2 separate regions of the Homo sapiens genome follow, and region 2 is linked to region 1. The links are contacts of gene promoters, found by promoter capture Hi-C in blood cells and fetal thymus (Javierre and others, 2016). All regions are on one chromosome and are shown on one strand. The core of a region is centred on a gene start or on the middle of the fragment in contact, and the rest is flanking DNA. Distances in the headings are between cores, read along the strand shown.

Region 1 (2,783 bases), core at 256-2,755:
CTCTGAATGAGGTGAACTTTTTAAAAAATTAGGCCATATGTCTGCTGAGGAATATTCATTATTGCTAACGTGAGATGGTATTTCATAAATTTTATTTACTTTTCATTTTTTGGTTGTAAGCACTGAGAAACCTATTCACAAAAATAAGTAGATGGGAAAAGAAAAACTTTTCTTATAGCAGTGTTATAACTTCTTACCAGGTTGTATGCCAAAAATCACATAAAGATCAATCATCAAATAGGATTTTTAATACTTTCTCAGGTGACATTTTAATTAGGTTCCCCTTCAGTTTTGTTGTAACTAAAGCATTGAAAGTCATCTGACTTGCAGAATGATTTGCTGCAAGGTCATTAGTCATTCACTTTCTCAACACTTTTTCTCGAAAGAATTTTGAGTTGTACCTTTGTTTGGTCCCCCAGAAATTTTTATACCCCAAAGCAACTCGAGATGAGTGAGAGGTATGAATTCCATTTGTAAAGTGAGAGAAAAGCATTTACGAAAAAGGGACTCTCTTCAGATTCCTGAGAAAGAGTGCAAATGAAAGCTGAGAATCTGAAAATTTCCTTATCTCTGCCAACTAGAGCCCATGGAAAATCTTTGAGTAACTCTGGGGGTACTATGCATCACAGTCTGAAAATTATTATATGGGATGTACTTTCTATACTTAAATTAAATTTCCCCATGGAGGCAGCATTGTTATACAGGTGACAATGAGATAACAATGCAAAGAAACCAGAAGTCAAGTTCATATCGACTTATATAGCTCTGTCTCCATAAGTCAGAAACAGGAAAAATTAACTTGTTCTTCAGCAATCTAGGTTGACTTCATGAACGAGCTGGCGTTCAAATGAATCCTTGAATTGTGGAAACAGAATGTTAAATCTGGAATGAACTTCAGATATCATCTAGTATGGAGAGGACAATTAAATGTTGACTTTTACATCAATTTGGATTAAATATTTGTGATTGCTTACAATTCTGTGTCAAGAAGTAGTCAGAGGAATCATCTGAGATCTGTAGGAAAGCATGTTGTGATTGATTAGCTATGCCTGTCAGAGGAAGCAGGGAGAGAGGGGCACAGGTGATCTGCTCTTGCCCCCCTAGGTACATAGTCCTTATCACATGAACCACAGGGAAAACTGAGGCTGACTGAGAGCAGGAAGCTTGACCAAAACTCCACAGTGAATTATTGCCAGGATGGGTAGAATTACATATGTTTTATTCAACATTTGGTGGTCATTGTAAATTTGGTAACATTTGCAACTGGAAAATTTGGGGATGTTTTAGAGCTGGAAGGGAGCAAATTCTTAATTGAGCAATACACGCTGTCCTTTCTTTCAGGCTCCTTCACATTTGATCTCTGTGCAATTTGATAAGAGGAGGGAATGGGCCGTCAATTATGAAGAGACTGAAAACCTGAAAATACTGAGTATGGTCTTAGTTCCCTCTCCAAAGGGAGCTCAGGAAAAATGCCAAGCCATACAAGCCACTGATTACTCATCTAGCTATTGTTTCTACCTCACCCTGGCCCAGGAAGACAGATCTACTGAGGAAAGGTAATAGAGGCTGGCAAGGTTCCTACTTTTACATCTATCTGTAATATCCACTCATTCTTAGCATCTTGCACATCCACAGGGCCGTACAGGAGTCTTCTTGCCTTGTATTATTGAATCTTGGGATAGGGGTAGGAACAGACAGAGGTATTAGCAGAGATCCAACAGGATGTAAAACATACATGTTGATGCAGGGGTTAACTTTATGTATAATAAATAGATTTTTACCATGCATACCAAACTGAATATTCCTTCCTCCTTTTTCTCTCAGACCTCTTTCTATGTGTGGCTCATTCTTTTACTCTACAACATAATGTTCAGTTGATTCTGGACTTTTTCTGTGACAAACAATGCTGTAATAAACATCCTCCTTGTGCATTCATCTGGGTGCACTTCTGAGAATTTATCTGAAGGATAAATTCCTAGAAGTAGACTGTCTGTAACATAGGGTCTATGCACTTTCAATTTCCATAGATTCTGCCAAATGGTTTTCTTAAGAGGTTATACCAATTTACACTCTCAGCTATGGTATATGGTAACCCCTGCTTTCCCACAACCTGCCAACACTGGGTATTTACAAACATAAATAAATGGAGGGTTTGAATAATTGTAGTTTTGAATTAGACTTGGGGCGTCCCTCTCATCTGCCCCAACTTGTGTCTCCCCAAAGCAACCTAACTAGGGGATGGCTAATGCCATAGACTCTGAGGCTTACTCAGAGCAGAGGCTGAATGCTCCTGCTTCAGTGGGAACAGGGGGTGTTTCTTCAGTCTGTGCCCTACTTGGCATCTGTCCCTGACAGACCCAGCCAGTGTGGGGAGCCAGCCTCTCTAACCATAAGAAAGAATGGATTGGAAACAAATTGATCTTTTCACAGCTGGCTGTTCCCCTCTTTCCCCTCAACTTGGACTCAGCTCAGAACAAGGTTGCCGATGTTCTGCTGCAACAAAGATGGCATTATTGAGGACTGCCTCTTTGGGGGGAAATGTCCTTCTCCAAGAATCGCCTCTGTAGTTTCAACTATGACAAGCCTGGAGACCGAGCATAGCTGTGCATCTCCAAGGGTCTCCAAAGCGACACCCAACTCTATCCGTCCTGTTGATGACCATGTACTCTTCTATTGGTGTCCACAACTTTATTTAAATGATGTCAGATGACTCAATTCAACAGAATCTAACCCTTTATTCATCCTCCCTGGAGACCTGTGGTCAGTGGGCAGGAGAGTTTGGG
Region 2 (2,874 bases), core at 192-2,691, 480 kb before region 1:
GACCCTTAAACATATGAATAGATGTTAGTCTTCACTCATGGTAAGGGAAATGCAGGTTAAAACCAAAATGAGATACCGTTTCTCACCTGTAGGATTGGGAGAGCCTAAACAGTTGCTGAGGGCATGAGGAAACAGGTATCTCAGATATCATATACTCTTACAGAACAGAACTTGGCAGCATCTAACAAAACTGTATATATCTTTTCCATTTGGCTCAAAAGTCCATGCTGAAAAATTAACCCTAAAGATACACCGTATTAATCCGTTCTCATGCTGTTAATAAAGATATACCTTGGCCTGGCACAGTGGCTCACGCCTGTAATCCCGCACTTTGGGAGGTTGAGGAGGGCGGATCACCTGAGGTCAGGAGTTCGAGACCAGCCTGGCCAACATGGTGAAACCCCATCTCTACTAAAAATACAAAAATTAGCCAGGCCTGGTGGCAGGCACTTGTAATCCCAGCTACTCGGGAGGCTGAGGCAGGATTGAACTGAGTTCAATCACTTGAACTCAGGAGGCGGAGGTTGCAGTGAGCTGAAATGGTGCAAATGGGGAAAATGTAGATTAAACAATTGGTGACTCTGGGTAAAAGGTAAATGGGAGTTCTCTGTATTATTCTTGTGACATTTCTGTAAATTTGGAATTATTTCAGAAGGTATCCAAAAAGCTGTTTTCTCCTTCCTCTCTCTCTCTTTTTTCTTTCTTCCCTTCCCCCTTCCCCCTTCCCTTCCTTTCTTTCTTTCACGGAGTCTCACTCTGTTACCCAGGCTGGAGTGCAGCGGCGAGATCTCAGCTCATTGCAACCTCTGCCTCCTGGGTTCAAGTGATTCTCCTGCCTCAGCCTCCCTAGTAGCTGAGATTACAGGAGCACGCCACCACACCTGGCAGATTTTTTTATTTTTAGCACAGATGGGGTTTCACCGCATTGGCCAGGCTGGTCTTGAACTTATGACCTCATGTGATCCACCTGCCTCGGTCTCCCAAAGTGTTGGGATTACAGGCGTGAGCCACTGCGCCCAGCCAATAGGCTAAATTTTTTAAGCTTAGTTAGATGTGACAATATATTTAAAAATAATAAGACATTAGTTGGTAAGGGGGAAAGGAAAAGAGAAGGACACATCCTCTGGTGCAATCAAGAACTTTAATTGGAGGCAGCTCTTCCCATGGTGGCTTTTTAGGAGCTGGAGTGACTCTTGCTTGGTGGCACAAGGATGGCTCAGATGTCTTCTCCTCCTTCAGGGGAGTTTCCGAATTAGTCTTCATGACTCCTGTCCACCGCCCTCTTCCTCATGGAGATGCCCCAGCAGCTGTGCAGCCGCCGGCTAGAATGCTCAGGGCCTCCCAGTGAGGCATGGCTGGAATGGCCAGTGCTCCTGGCAGTAGCGGTTTAAGTTTCTCTTGTAAAAATTTCTTTGGGAAGCATATGCATTCAGATCTGAAAGAAGAAAGGAAAAAATTATGCTGGGTGAAGGCCTTTGAATTGGGCTTTGATGAACTGTTTTGGTTGTTTGTATCCATTGCTGATCATTCCTCAGCTTCTTGAATCTCAAGGGACCCAAGGCAGACCCTAGTCTAGGACTTGGAAGTCTTTTGTGATAGGAGGAGTTTCTTGCAGTGTATTTTGCATTGTGTTACGTTGGTGGCTTCAGTGACAGTAGGCTGTCTTGCAAAGCACAGTGATATGGAAGGTAGGAGACTTGGGCCCATCCTGGCTCTGACACTTACGTCATTCCCTAGTGCACTCGTGGGAAGTCCCTTTCCCTCTGTGAGCCTCACCCCTATGGGGGGGTGGGAAGGGCAGAAGGAAGGAGTGGGCGAGCTAGTGGGGTTCCTACCTTCTCAAGCTTGATTCAAGCAGAGCTGTTCCTCTTTGATCTTTTATAGAAAATGGACTCTGTGAAATGCTGTTTTCAAGGGGGTTTAGTTGTTAGGGGAATTCAAAATGACTGGGTTGGATAATCCTTAGTTCTCAACAGGACTCCTGGGGTGGTTGTGAGTTATGTGAGACCACCTGGGGATAGAACTGGCGCCCAGCAATGTGGCTGCATTTCTTCTTCCTGGGCTGTGCCACTGTCCTGGGATTGGGCATCTGTTCTTCTGTGACCCAGAGGCATTTCACCCCCAGTTGAACTACACTCAATCCACAAGTGTTTTCTGGCATTGTTTACTTGCCATGCACCTGGCTGGATCTGGGGGCATAACAGGGAATAAAACTGATGTGGGCCCCTGCCCTCCTGGCACTTACTGTCTAGTGGCCAAAGTAGACATCAAGTAAGCATATGAAAAATACACGTGTAAGATGATGCCGCCAGGTGCGGTGGTTACACCTGTAATCCCAGCACTTTGGGAGGCCAAGGTAGGTGGATCACTTGAGGTCAGGAGTTCGTGACCAGCCTGGCCAACATGGTGAAACCCTTTTTCTACTAAGAATACAAAAATTAACCAGGCATGTTGGTGGGCGCCTGTAATCTCAGCTACTCAGGAAGCTGAGACAGGAGAATCACTTGAACCTGGGAGGTGGAAGTTGCAGTGAGCTGAGATTGGAGACTGCACCACTGCACTCAAGCCTAGACAACAGAGGGAGACTCCATCTCAAAAAAAAAAAAAAAAAAAAAAGATGATGCCACAAAGCTTTGAAAGGAAAGCATGGATGTTTGCCCTTCCCCCCAGACCTGCTCCTTCTCATGCACTTCCTAGCTTGGAAGATAGTGGAGTCAGGTCTTAGCCTCTAGGGTCTCCCCAGTGTGCTCTGGAATATGACTGGGGCTGCTTGATGGGAGCAATTCCATCTCCCCATCTCGCTTAGCTGAAGTATCAATGGGGTCTGGTTATTAGGACCAGGCTCCCTGTCTGGGAGTTTCTGGTCAGTGTTAG

The links. The method cuts DNA at HindIII sites, captures the fragments that hold promoters and counts their contacts. A CHiCAGO score of 5 or more calls a contact.
Region 2: a contact is called between a fragment that was not itself captured here and the fragment with the promoter of DELEC1 in region 1, in 1 of 17 cell types (M0 macrophages). The highest score is 5.6, in M0 macrophages.

Annotation. Positions count from the first base shown.
Region 1 is chr9:115,140,313-115,143,095 of GRCh38, forward strand. DELEC1 (deleted in esophageal cancer 1) reads left to right here and starts at 1,506. Exons shown (of 8, transcript NR_163556.2): 1 at 1,506-1,556. The HindIII fragment of the contact is 2,096 bases long and covers 1,162-2,783 here.
Region 2 is chr9:114,665,312-114,668,185 of GRCh38, forward strand. TEX48 (testis expressed 48) reads right to left here. Exons shown (of 5, transcript NM_001199233.2): 5 at 1,123-1,435. The coding sequence ends at 1,332. Among named protein-coding and RNA genes, the nearest start is that of TEX53, 8.9 kb to the left of the region's middle. The HindIII fragment of the contact is 802 bases long and covers 1,041-1,842 here.